3 separate regions of the Homo sapiens genome follow, and all the other regions are linked to region 1. Evidence: promoter capture Hi-C in 16 types of primary human blood cells and fetal thymus (Javierre and others, 2016). All regions are on one chromosome and are shown on one strand. The core of a region is centred on a gene start or on the middle of the fragment in contact, and the rest is flanking DNA. Distances in the headings are between cores, read along the strand shown.

Region 1 (4,197 bases), core at 608-3,107:
GCCCCCACGCACCTTAGGGATGGCGCCATTCTCCTCCACAAGCAGGGGCGCCCCGCTGTGAGCAGGCAGGGCCTCCCCATCATCCCGGCAGACACAGCAGAAGAGTGAGTGGAGGATGCCCCGGCTTCGGGGCTTCTGGGAAGCTGCTGACTTCTGGTCACCTGAAGTAGGGAGGCACAAGTTGGAGGCTCGGTGCACACTGGCCTGCAGAATCCTGCATGTGTGCCCAGGTGTGAACCCCTGAGCCAGGAGGATCTTGCCGTGGCCCCTTCATCCAGACACACGAAGGCAGCTCCTGACTTTCTCTGAAACGCCCCTGTCAGGGCTCCACAATCAACTGCAAGGCTCCTGCAGCTCCCAGACAAATAGGTCTAGCAGGTATTAAGGCGCCCACATAGGGAGTGCGTGGCCTGGAGAAGGAGGTCCTGGGGTGCTCTCTCCCTGCCTCTCACAGCCTCCATGACTGCTGCTGATCAGCCCCATTGCGGTGCCTCCTGACCCCACCTTACCTGAGCACCCCTGCTCAGGACAGCCAGGGCCTGGGACCCAGGGCAGTCCACCCCTGCCCTCCCTCCATCCTCTCCACCCCCGTGGGTACGAAGTCCTCACTGCGGCTGGGCCCAGAGGCAGGGGTGCAGTCCCGCGGCCTGGGGCCAGTGTCCAGTGGCCATCTGTTTGCCCTGCCCCGCCCAGACCTCCGACCTGGAGCCCAGCAGCCTGATTGACAGATACCCCTCCCACCCCACCCCCCTCCGGCCCCCTGCAACTAGCCTTTCCACCTTGCCCTCAGTTCCGGGGCAGCCAGACCCAGGCGAGGGTGGGCAGACCTGGGGGCAGCGTCCAGATCCTGAGGTCCACACGGGGAAAAGGAGAAGACAGACCCCCCCACCCCGGCCCAGCCACGCTGGGGGACGCAGCCTCGTCGGGGCGGCGAGGCTTTGCGGGGTGGTGCGTGCCCACTAGGCGCACGACTCTCCCCGCGGGCGCCAAGCGACTCTTGGAAGTGCCGGCCGTCCTCTCTGTGCCTCCGAGGGGGTCGGCGCCTCCACGCGTGACGCGAAGTTTGTGGGGAACGTAGCTGTGTGTTGGCGGGAGATCCCTCCAAGCCTCCCCAGCCTGCTGTCACCTCGGCGCCCCCTCCCAAGACCCTACCGGACCGCAGCCCGGGGGGGTGGGGGTGGGGGGTGGGGCGGAGTCTCAGCGGGTGGCCCATAGGCGCCCTCCTCAGCTCCCCCATCTCCCAGCCCCATTGGCGCCAATGGTGGGGGGGCGCCCATGCACCACGCAATGCCTGCCAGGAAACCCCCGAAGAGTTCCCTCTCTATTCCTGCCTCAGTTTCCTCACCTCGAGCGAACAGGAGCGCCCCAAAGGCGCCAGGCCCCGCCCCGCGTCTCTGAGCCTCCTCTGAGTTCAAACTCTCTCCCTGCTCCCTCTCGGGCTGGGAGCTTCGGGCACAGCTAAGGCGGCCGCCCGGGGCGGCGGCGGCGGCTCCCCTGGGGAAGATCCCGGCCCCTTCTCTCCTCCCACGGCGCCCCGGCTTCGGCCCCCTCCCCGCAGCCCCGGTACCTTTGCCCCGCAGCGGGCCCCGAGCCTCCTCCTTGCTGATCTGAGTAATGACGGCCGAGCTGTCCATGGGGCCGGGCGCGCTCCGCTCCGGCCGGACTCTGGCCCGGGCGCCCGGCCTCCCCCCCGGCTGGGGCCGGAATCGGGGCGCGGGGGGGAGGGGAGGGGTGGGAGGGAGGGATCCCCGCGAGCTCCGGAGGGGAGGGGAGCCAGGTTCTAGGGGGGAGGGGGAGGGAGGGGGCGCGGAGGAAACTTTGTTACAACATGGAGTTTCCTTCCCGCGAGGCGGATGCAAACATGGAACCCAGGCGCCGTTTCAAGGCTCCCCCTTAAAAGGGCAACGGCTTCGGCGTGACCTGGACTCGGCTGCGGCTTTCGCCACTTCTGGGACCGGCGCGGCTAGGCGGACTGGGAGGCGGGCCGGGCCGGGTTCCTGCCGCGCTCCAGGGGGCGTCGCCTCCCTTCCTGCCGCCCGCCGGCGGGGCTGAGTCTCTGCGGCTGCGTGGCAGGCCCGGCACCCGGCTCACCGTTCCAGGCCGCCGAGCGCCCTCGGCCAAGGCCCGCCCGCCGGGAGCGCCCACGCCGGGGAGTGCCCGAGTGCGGCGCGGCTCCACCTCTGCGTTTTCTGAAGACCCGGGACTAGAGGCTTCTCGGTTTCCTCGTTGAGGACTTGGAGATAGCACTACCTCATCTGTAAAATGGGTCTTCTCTCCTGTCTGGTGGTCGCAGAGATCACCTCGCAAGGACGTCAAGAGCCAGCGAAGGCTCTGCTGGCCCGAAACAGCTGTGCAAACCTCAGAATCACGCTCTTGAATGGGACGGTCGCCGCCCCCCGCAGCCCCAGGGCGAGGTGCCCCCGGTCTGTAGGACGTGAAATTCTAACTCTCTGCCCTGGGAAAGCCCCCTGCCGACCTCTCCCCACGGCCCCACCCGGGGCCCCGCACGTCTACCCGCCGCGCACGGGCCACCGCGCGTTCCCGCCTGAAGTTTTCGTACGCGCTGTTCCTTTCGCGTAGCCAAATTCCACCGACCTCGAGGAAATGCCACCTTCTCCAGGGGCCTTCCCAGACCCCCTCCCCTGCCCGCGGTCGACGGCCGCCCTGTGATTACTGGGGGTGCGGTGGGAGTCACTGGACTCGCTGCCGATCCTAGGAGCCCAGCACGGCGCCGCACGCGGTGGGCCCAAAGCCCGACCGTGGGGGACCTCAAACCAGAGGCCCTCAAGGCCCGTTCCACCCGGCCTGTGGCGCAGTGCTGGGCACTTGGGAACGGAGGTCCCTGTCTTCTCGCTGCAAGCCCCTCCGTGGTGCGCGCCGTGGGTCTGCGGGTTGGTCTTTTTCCTCGTTTATGAAGTTCTTTTCACTCGTCGTTACTATTTTGTAAGTTCACCATTTAAAAATTAATAATGCCAAGCCCGACAAACACCCCTCGGCACTTCCTCCCCTCCCCCTCTCCCGCGGGCCTCCGTGGCGGGGCGGGGCGGGCGCGTCCTGTCCCGTCCGGCCGCCGGGTGCGACGCGGCGCACGTCCGCCAGGCCCTGCCGAGGGGGAGCCGGGGAGGGGAGGCCCCGCGCGGGGGCCGGGAGGGGAAGGGAGGGGAGCGGCGTCTGCCAGAAGGCGCGGCGGCTTCGTGCGCTGAGGCTGGGAGTAGGGGCGGGAGGGGACTGTCGGGGACTGATACCCCGGTCCCCGGGCTGGATCCCTCGGCCCTCCTCCTGCTCCTGGGTAGCCCACGGGGCGGCCACCATTGCGCTTCATCACCGTGATCGCCACACGCTGCTGGCGTTTTCCTAGGCCTGCTCTGGCTGCGCCCCCTAATCTCATTTACCCCTTAGAACGGCCTCCTTCTTAACCCATTTCACAGATGAGGAAACTGAGTTTCAAGAAAGGAAGCGACGTGCTTCGGGTCTACCGGCAAGGGCAAAGGCGGGATTCCAGCCTGGGAGCGGGACATCTGTCTCCCCTGCGGTCCGGCCCCCTGGGTGGGGCCTCGGCTTTATCTCCGGATGCGGGGCCCTCATGACCCCAAAAGGAAGCGTGTGGCGAGGGACTGAGTGGAGTCGTGGCCTCGCCCTTGGCCTGGGTTGGGTGGCGCGCTTTCCTCTCCCTCTGTGAAGGGGGCTGGTACCTGGCCGGCTGTCCCCACACCCACCATTCCCAGACGCGCCATCCTGAGCTCACAGGATTCCTCAGGAATCCCCCACCTCCTCCACCCCATCTTATCGCCACTTCAAGCCGTTGCCCGTGCAGTTCTTTTCCCAGGGAGACCTAACTCCTCCTCCCAGGCTCCCAAAGCGGCAGAGGTAGCCGCGCCTTCTGCCTGGAGCCCTGGACTTATCTCCCCACGCCTGGGGCGGGTAGTTAGTTACGGAGTGAGCGAGAGGCCAGGATTGCGTGGGGGGAGGGGGGTCCTTCGAGTGTCCTCACTGTAGGGGTTGTCTACACCCAGCTGCCCTCTGTCTCTACAGGTGGAGGTCGCTTTATGCACTCTATTTTTTGTCTGTTTTATCATTCGCACCCCAGGAAAAATAAAATCATGGGGGCCACAAGTCAGAAACGGGGAGGGGCAGGAACGGGATTCAGCAAGGTGCTGTCTGGCACCTGTGGATTTGGAAGCGTCTCTTCCAACACAG
Region 2 (4,197 bases), core at 1,037-3,536, 850 kb before region 1:
GCATGTAGGGGGTGGTATTTATAGCCCAGGAGCGGGGGCCGAAACCCAATCCCCGCTTTGGGCTGGGAAATAACTGTAAAGACTCCAGAGGGAGAGCGGATGTAGGGCTGGGCTGCAGGATGGCGCCCATCCTGCCCGGGACAAGGCGGGTCACCTCTGGGGCCTCACCGCAGGTTCCACTTCCTTTCTGGGTATTTGGAAACCGTCACCCCGCCATTTCGGTGTGGGAAGAGCGCGCGGGCCCTGCCGGACTTTAGTGCTTTAGGGGTTAATTTCGGGCTGACAGGGACGGAGCCTAAGGCAGTGAGCGCCCCAGTACCCTCAAACCTTATTGCTGGCCCCTGCTGTCTGAGCTTACAAGCATTACCGCCGCTATTTCCGTGCGGGCTGACACGGGAGATGAAAGTGGTGAAGACACCCAGGGTGCGGGGGTGGAGGTGGGGAGAGGAGCCAGATGGGATTGATCCCCAGAGCCAGATGGGATTTAAAGGTGAGGGAGGAGGGCATCCTGATGGCGTGTGGTCAGTTGATGCCAGATTGGATGGCTGAGACACCTCTGCAGCTTACAGGAAAGAAAGAGGGAAAGGGTTCTATGAATTCTAGCTGTTCATACTCAAAGCAAATAATTAATCAAGTGGGGGGGGGGCCTCTAGCTGTAAACCCATACCTCTAGGAAACCTTTTGTCATGTGGAGCCACAGTGCTCACTTGACAGATTCCCCACTGAGAAGTGGGCTAAGAGGTTGGCCTGCATTGCTGGGTGCCTCCAGGTGGGGAGTCCTGTACCTGGGAGCCCGGGCAGGCTGCTACTCTCTTCTCACCTCTGCCCAGCCCCAACCCTCCACTCTTGCCAACTGAGTCATCCTAGCTGGTAGATGATAGGGTGGAAGAGAGACTCGCAAGGTGAGGACTTGTGGATGTGGGGCTCATGCTGTGTCCCCTCTCTCTATCCCTCAGCGTGAATGCATCTCAGTCCACGTGGGGCAGGCAGGTGTCCAGATGGGCAATGCCTGCTGGGAGCTCTATTGCTTGGAACATGGGATTCAGCCTGATGGGCAGATGCCCAGTGACAAGACCATTGGTGGAGGGGACGACTCCTTCACCACCTTCTTCTGTGAAACTGGTGCTGGAAAACACGTACCCCGGGCAGTTTTTGTGGATCTGGAGCCTACGGTCATTGGTGAGAGGAAGTGGGGACAAAATTGAAGGGGGTGGAGCATGACTCAAAGCTTCTCCCTGGAGAGAGAGGGTATTTAGACCAGGCATTCCTAGCCCTGAAAATTCCTAGCCGTACTTGAAGCTGCAGAAGGCAAGCTGATCTGAGACTGGCCTGGGCAGCTGGTCTGGGTTTCTCTCACACTCTGGTATCTCAGGCTGGCAGGAGGATGAGTCCTTCCATGCATCTGGCCACAGCTACCACCCTGGGGGAGGAAGGTCCCTGCTGAGCATAGCTTTGTGGTTTTTGCCCTTCCAGATGAGATCCGAAATGGCCCATACCGACAGCTCTTCCACCCAGAGCAGCTCATCACTGGGAAAGAGGATGCTGCCAACAACTATGCCCGTGGTCACTATACCATTGGCAAGGAGATCATTGACCCAGTGCTGGATCGGATCCGCAAGCTGGTGAGAGTGTGTCTTGGGAGGGAGGGAACTTTTGAGACTGTGCTAATGGTCAGGAATATTTTTTTTCAGATCCTTTCAGGAGGTCATCTCTAACTATACATGGTCTCGAGTGTGGTGCTGCTATGGCATCCTCAGTATTTGCCCTGACTGCTGATGTATCTTACGCTTTATGGAGCCAGGTGATAGAGTCCCTCAGGCCCCTCCCCTACCTAAACTGTTCTTTCTCGTTCTTGCCTTTCAGTCTGACCAGTGCACAGGACTTCAGGGCTTCCTGGTGTTCCACAGCTTTGGTGGGGGCACTGGCTCTGGCTTCACCTCACTCCTGATGGAGCGGCTCTCTGTTGACTATGGCAAGAAATCCAAGCTGGAATTCTCCATCTACCCAGCCCCCCAGGTGTCTACAGCCGTGGTCGAGCCCTACAACTCTATCCTGACCACCCACACCACCCTGGAGCACTCAGACTGTGCCTTCATGGTGGACAACGAAGCAATCTATGACATCTGCCGCCGCAACCTAGACATCGAGCGCCCAACCTACACCAACCTCAATCGCCTCATTAGCCAAATTGTCTCCTCCATCACAGCTTCTCTGCGCTTTGACGGGGCCCTCAATGTGGACCTGACAGAGTTCCAGACCAACCTGGTGCCCTACCCTCGCATCCACTTCCCCCTGGCCACCTATGCACCAGTCATCTCTGCAGAAAAGGCATACCACGAGCAGCTGTCGGTGGCAGAGATCACCAATGCCTGCTTTGAGCCTGCCAACCAGATGGTAAAGTGTGATCCCCGGCACGGCAAGTACATGGCCTGCTGCCTGCTGTACCGTGGAGATGTGGTGCCCAAGGATGTCAACGCTGCCATTGCCGCCATCAAGACCAAGCGCAGCATTCAGTTTGTGGACTGGTGCCCCACAGGCTTCAAGGTTGGTATCAACTACCAGCCTCCCACTGTGGTGCCTGGGGGTGACCTGGCCAAGGTGCAGCGTGCCGTGTGCATGCTGAGCAACACGACCGCCATCGCCGAGGCCTGGGCCCGCCTGGACCACAAGTTCGACCTGATGTATGCCAAGAGGGCGTTTGTGCACTGGTATGTGGGTGAGGGCATGGAGGAGGGTGAGTTCTCCGAGGCCCGTGAGGATATGGCTGCCCTGGAGAAGGATTATGAGGAGGTGGGCATCGACTCCTATGAGGACGAGGATGAGGGAGAAGAATAAAGCAGCTGCCTGGAGCCTATTCACTATGTTTATTGCAAAATCCTTTCGAAATAAACAGTTTCCTTGCACGGTTTCTTGTTCCCTCTGAGTGCTTGAGCTTCTGCTGCCTTCCCCTTCATGCTGCTGCTGCTCTGTTTGCTGTTCATGACCCTTATCCCTTCCATCGCTGAAGGTGAGACCTGCAAAGGGGTTCTTGCCAGGCCCAGGAAGCATAACCCCAGGGACTTTAAATTGAAGTCCTAGGGTTACTCAGTATAGGGAGGAAATGAGGACCAAAATCCAGGCACAAACTGTTGAAGGATGAGTCTTCAGCTCCTTTCCAAGTAGGAGTATAATCCAGTGGTTTCTGTCTTTGAAAGTTAGACTGCTACCCTGTTCTTCCTGCTGCCTCTACATTTACCAACTCTGGAAGCAAGGCTTGGCCCAGGCTCCTCTGTGCATTATGAGGGTTTGGGAGTGGGGCTGGGCTGGCCCAGAGTTCCTGGGCATGGAGCCACGTCATAAGCTTGGGGGATGGGAGGGAACACAGGCGATCTCCTAGAGTTGTTTGTGCCACTGCACCTCTGAGCAGCTTTGCATAGCTTCCTGTCTTGCTGCTTTGCTGGAGCTGGGGCTGTGCCATTAAAAGTCAGGTCATCTCCCCTCTGTTTGTGATTTCTTTCTGGCCTCAGCCTCTGTGCTAGCTAGTGGGAGACTCCTGCTAGGGCCCTGGGGAAAGCTTCAACTTTGCTAACAGGAGCCCCAGGCCCCATGCTGATGTCATACTGTGGGGTAGACATGGTTCGGGGGAGGAGGCTTGGATCACAAAAGAGCAGGAGATGCCAACCCTGCCCTTGCCTTTCCTCCCTGGTGATTCAGGGAACAGAGCCCTTCCCTAGGGAACAGGTTTGAAGCCCAGCTAAGACAGGGCCCCTGTTTACTCAGCAGAGTAGGCAGGAAGTGGCAGCTGGATACTGCCACACCACACTGCCTCATTAATCATTAACCATGTATGAGCTTGAACGATCAGGGAGACACAGGCCAAAACAGCTGCCGCTGCCACCTCCACTCCCCTCGCCCCTAGGCTGAGGATGGGAGACCTGTAATCTACCTGTCTCAAAGCTTCCTCAGGTGTCTCCACCCAGAGGCCCTTGCCTAGCAAACCGGCTAGGCAGCTTTGACTAAGCTACTCACCCCAGGAGTGAAGGAAGGAAAGAACTAGTTGAGTGTTTTTAGGGGGCCCTAGTTCTTGACACAGGCAGATGCCAGCTTGAGCCCAAGCAGCTTTAAGTTTTGATCTAAGACAAGCTAGAACTGTCCACTGCTAACCAACCTCCTGTAGAATGAAGTCACACCATTGCCGACTCTGCACCATTCCTCCTT
Region 3 (4,197 bases), core at 648-3,147, 810 kb before region 1:
CTCCTCCCCTCCTTCCTGCCTTGTGTATGCTCAAGCCGTTCCTCCTGGGCACTGTCCCCACCTAGAACAGATACCATGAATTCAAATCTCACAAAACACACTTTCCAGTTCTCAAGCCCAAACAAGGCTCTTGTGTATTCTTGAGGCCTCAGCCAGCAGCCTGCCTCCTTCCATTGAGGGTTTTGAGTGGCAGGAGCAGTTTTACCTGGACCCTCTCTATAGGCAACGTCAGCGCTGGATACATCTAATGAGAGGGCCATCCAGGCTTCTCTGGCCAAAGTCTGTGCCAACCGCACCACCATCGTAGTGGCACACAGGTACAGGACTACAGGCCTGGGGCGGCTGGTGATGTGGCCCGCTTTGGGTGGGGTAGTAGGCGACTGATCTTTGACTTCTCAGGCTCTCAACTGTGGTCAATGCTGACCAGATCCTCGTCATCAAGGATGGCTGCATCGTGGAGAGGGGACGGTAAGAGACACATAGATCAAAAGGACAGGTCTTCTGAATTGGGGGCTCCAGGAAAGGGGGCATGAAGTCCCAGGGGCTTCTGGAGGGGACCTCCCTTCCCATCCCGTCCTCTCTGTGGGCTGGTGGCAAGGACCCTCGGGGTAAAACTAATGGTTAGGACTCACACTTTTCTCCTCACCCCAGACACGAGGCTCTGTTGTCCCGAGGTGGGGTGTATGCTGACATGTGGCAGCTGCAGCAGGGACAGGAAGAAACCTCTGAAGACACTAAGCCTCAGACCATGGAACGGTGACAAAAGTTTGGCCACTTCCCTCTCAAAGACTAACCCAGAAGGGAATAAGATGTGTCTCCTTTCCCTGGCTTATTTCATCCTGGTCTTGGGGTATGGTGCTAGCTATGGTAAGGGAAAGGGACCTTTCCGAAAAACATCTTTTGGGGAAATAAAAATGTGGACTGTGCGAGGATCACTGTGGCTTTGTGGGATGGGGTACTGCAGCGGGCCTCTACCCATAAGTCAGATGAGCATTCTTGACACGGCTTTCCTGTTTGAGGTTAGAGAGGAGAGAGAAACACACCACTTGTACGTTTTATCAACTGCCAAGATCCTTTATTTTTTCCAGGCCCCTTCCTGCCCACTCCACATCGGGGCAGCTCCAGCATAAGGGAGATGACATGATGAAGGGGCTAAGAGTAGGGCCTGGCCAGCATCCACTGAGGGCCCAACCAGGGAACAGTTGCTAGCCGCTCTCTTCCATGCAGCTGGAGCACTAGCAAGGCCTTCCAGAGGCTCCCAGGGCGACCTCCACATCACTCCCGCTTGTCTCTGCCCTCCAGGGTGCTCCGGGCCTCCTCTCCCTGTGTACCCTAGAGGTGTGAGGGCCACAGTCCTCCTCAGGTGAACCTCCCTCCCCAAGCCCAGGGCCCTAGCACAGGCTGCAGTTGGACGGCTTCGAGCTGCGGCTCTGGGCCTAGAGCAAAGAGAGGGGAAGGAGGGGAAGACACAGTGCAACGTCAAGGAAATGAGGGACAGCCCTCATTTCAGAGCTCAGCATGGGCTGGAGTCATACTGAAAACCAGACGATAACCACCATTCCAAAACTCTGCACCACTAGGAAGAACCCCCATCCCTGACTTCTTCCTCCCTTCCACTGCAGCATATATCTTCAGCCCAGCCTCATACCTGCTGCCGCTGGTATTCTGCCTCACTGGCTGACAGTGCTTGTGCTAAAGCTAGGTCTTCTTCCTCCTGACAACTGGGAGGGAGAAACAGTTTAAGTTGGATGATGGTAAGATCTGAAATTTGAACATCTGATCTGTGTGTGTTGGGCCTCATGGTGCTGAGCACTGCTGAGGATTATCTCAATCTTCATAGCAACACTACAAGGTGGGTATTAGTATTGTCCCCGTTTTATAGAGGAAATGAAGGCTCCATGGGTTAAATAACTTGTCAAAGATCATATAGTTCATCTTAATTTTGAGACCAAGTTGCCAGCGATTATCTTGCATTGTGTCAGAGTGGTCCCACCTACCTGCCTCCAGACCAAGCCCTTGCCCACAGCTTGCGCTCTCTTTCACAAGAGGGTAAGGTACCTTGGAACCTGGGGTTTGGTTTCTGCCAGGGACATTTCCAGGGCCCGCTGCAGAGCTTCATCCTCACTCTACAAAGGGAGAAAGAAGACCAGCGTCCTTGGACTTCACTCTCTGTGTGTTTGTTTCTGTCCATCCAACCTCTGCCCAACTCACCAGGCCATTCTGCAAAGCAATCACTGGAGGGGCTGTCCAGGACGGAGATCGGGTTGTGGCTCTACGACAGACATTGAAGAGGTGGAGGTCAGAGGTGTGAAGGGGAAAAAGGGGGAGCAGGGAAACGGGCAGGCCTACCTGCTGGGAGAGGTACAGGAAGGCATGGTTTGACTTGGGCTGGGGACAGTGCTTGTAGAAGCCACAGCTTGTGCTCTGGAGATGGCAGCAAGTCTGTAGGGAAGAGAGATTTTTGGCATGTCTCCAAGAACTAGCCTTACCCAGGAAGTCAGGAGGGGAGTTCTGGAAAAACATGCACTTGAAAAGGAAGCTAAAAGACTCCCCTAGCCGACAGGGTAGGGTTGAAGCTCCCCAATTTATAACAACAGAGCTTGAGTCAGTTCCAAAAGAATGCTTCCCAAAAGCAAGTGGAGGACTTGGCTGCCATTACCCTGCCCGGCTGGTTGGGTGCCCCTCCCCAGAGCAATCATGGTCCAGTGGATGCCGGTGCTTGATGCAGAAGTTTCGGCTACAGCGTTCACAGGTCAGTTTCATCATTTCTCGCTGCCGGCAGCCAGCGCGTTCACACTTATTGGTGAAGATCTGAGGTGAAGTGAGAAGGTTGTCTCTGCTGAGACTCTGATTAGCTGTTTGGGTTTCCAGGCATCCGTAGTCCCAGCTGGGTTGTGGCTGACCCCTACAATGTTTACCTTACGTTTTTGCTGTGCTGGATCAGAGCGACAGTCTCTGTCAATGTGCTCTCCCACAGCACGGTCAGGGGGCTCCCCTCTGGCCACAGGCACAGGCACATTACAGAGAGGGCACACAGGTACCTGGATATCCTGTAGTCAAGGAGCAAGGGTCAGTCTGTGGCCCACTCCAGTCCAACAAATCTCTGGTCCTGAAAGAACTTGGATATGACCCACCACAAACACGCAAAAAAACAGTGTTTCCCAGCACTGACAGCCTCAGAAGGACAAAAGGGAGAAGAAACGTGAGACACAGATTTGGGGGATTCTGCACGCATTCTCCATCTGCCTGCTTTCACCCTGAGGATCGCCCCCTCACCTTTTGGTAAGCAGATCCACAGTGATGCTGGGCGTAGGCCACATGGTCTGCGCAGAAGATGCCTGAGCAGGCATCACACTTAAGCGGCAGAAAATCTGCAAAGAGTTGGTCGGATTGCAGGTCCAGCGGGACCTCGATGTCCTTCTCTCTCACTCAAGTCTTCCACTCGGGAAGGAAAACGCCACCCTATTTTCGACACACCGCCCCTTCCCAAGCCCATTACCTCCTTGGCCACGCCCCCTCTGCCGCTGACCACCCCCCCCCAGCTTCAAGCCCCGCCCCCCGGCATTGCCAGCCTGGGAGCCCACCCTTCCCTCCCAACCTGCGGTTCAAAGTCCCTGTCCGCTGGGCCCCGCCCCCCGCGCGCTCCGCCCCTCACCCAAGCGCTGACAGCTCGGCTCCGAACAGTGAGCGCCGAGGTCCGGAAACTCCATCGCCAAGCCGGGCAGGGTCTGCTAGGAGAAGCGACGAGTGCTGAGCGTCTTTAGGGCTCGTGCTCGAAGTCCGCACCGCGACCCCGCACTCTGGCGGGCTCCCTGCCCCGCCCCTTCCTCTCCCCCGCCCAGCCCGGGTTACCGGAGCCCCCGCGCCAGCCGGCCCCCGGCGCCCGCTCCTCCCTCGGCGCGCGCGGCGCGCTGACGTCATCCCGCAGGGCTGGCGCGTCCGGCGCAGTCTCCGGGCAGCCGGGGAGGGCCTCGGTTGAGCCCCGCCCCGCCTCGCCTTGCTCTAGAAGGCTGAGTCGGAAGACTGTCCCGAGGCGAGAGGGTGTTGATGCGCGGCTCCGCCACCCTGGGCGCGGGCGTAGCTCCGCAGAGGAAGGCCAGCGAAGGCAAAGACGGATATCTTGGGGGATGGAAGGCTGGGTGGTTTGGGGTCTTTCACAATTCGGTCCTTAGCCCGCTTCACACACGATGCCCTCCT

The links. Contacts are between HindIII fragments. The CHiCAGO score rates a contact against its expected background, and 5 or more counts as called.
Region 2: a contact is called between a fragment that was not itself captured here and the fragment with the promoter of CTDSP1 in region 1, in 6 of 17 cell types (non-activated CD4 T cells, activated CD4 T cells, naive CD8 T cells and 3 more). The highest score is 9.0, in non-activated CD4 T cells.
Region 3: a contact is called between a fragment that was not itself captured here and the fragment with the promoter of CTDSP1 in region 1, in 1 of 17 cell types (non-activated CD4 T cells). The highest score is 5.3, in non-activated CD4 T cells.

Annotation. Positions count from the first base shown.
Region 1 is chr2:218,397,528-218,401,724 of GRCh38, reverse strand. It overlaps CTDSP1 (CTD small phosphatase 1), which reads right to left and starts at 1,857. Exons shown (of 7, transcript NM_021198.3): 1 at 1,568-1,857; 2 at 13-161. The coding sequence starts at 1,634. RefSeq lists silencers at 1,410-1,569, 1,730-1,809, 1,880-2,249, 2,940-3,209. The HindIII fragment of the contact is 4,794 bases long and covers 1-4,197 here.
Region 2 is chr2:219,248,990-219,253,186 of GRCh38, reverse strand. It overlaps STK16 (serine/threonine kinase 16), which reads right to left. Exons shown (of 8, transcript NM_001330213.2): 8 at 2,850-4,197. TUBA4A (tubulin alpha 4a) reads left to right here. Exons shown (of 4, transcript NM_006000.3): 2 at 957-1,179; 3 at 1,474-1,622; 4 at 1,864-3,477. The coding sequence ends at 2,835. Among named protein-coding and RNA genes, the nearest start is that of TUBA4B, 2.2 kb to the left of the region's middle. RefSeq lists enhancers at 2,955-3,074, 3,115-3,204. The HindIII fragment of the contact is 2,112 bases long and covers 1,231-3,342 here.
Region 3 is chr2:219,206,501-219,210,697 of GRCh38, reverse strand. It overlaps ZFAND2B (zinc finger AN1-type containing 2B), which reads right to left and starts at 3,916. Exons shown (of 9, transcript NM_138802.3): 1 at 3,656-3,916; 2 at 3,277-3,371; 3 at 2,919-3,050; 4 at 2,660-2,811; 5 at 2,350-2,442; 6 at 2,212-2,272; 7 at 2,059-2,126; 8 at 1,649-1,721; 9 at 1,050-1,436. The coding sequence starts at 3,710. The coding sequence ends at 1,392. It overlaps ABCB6 (ATP binding cassette subfamily B member 6 (LAN blood group)), which reads left to right. Exons shown (of 19, transcript NM_005689.4): 17 at 223-317; 18 at 400-468; 19 at 652-926. The coding sequence ends at 760. RefSeq lists enhancers at 2,458-2,957, 4,075-4,197 and a silencer at 3,625-4,024. The HindIII fragment of the contact is 8,332 bases long and covers 1-4,197 here.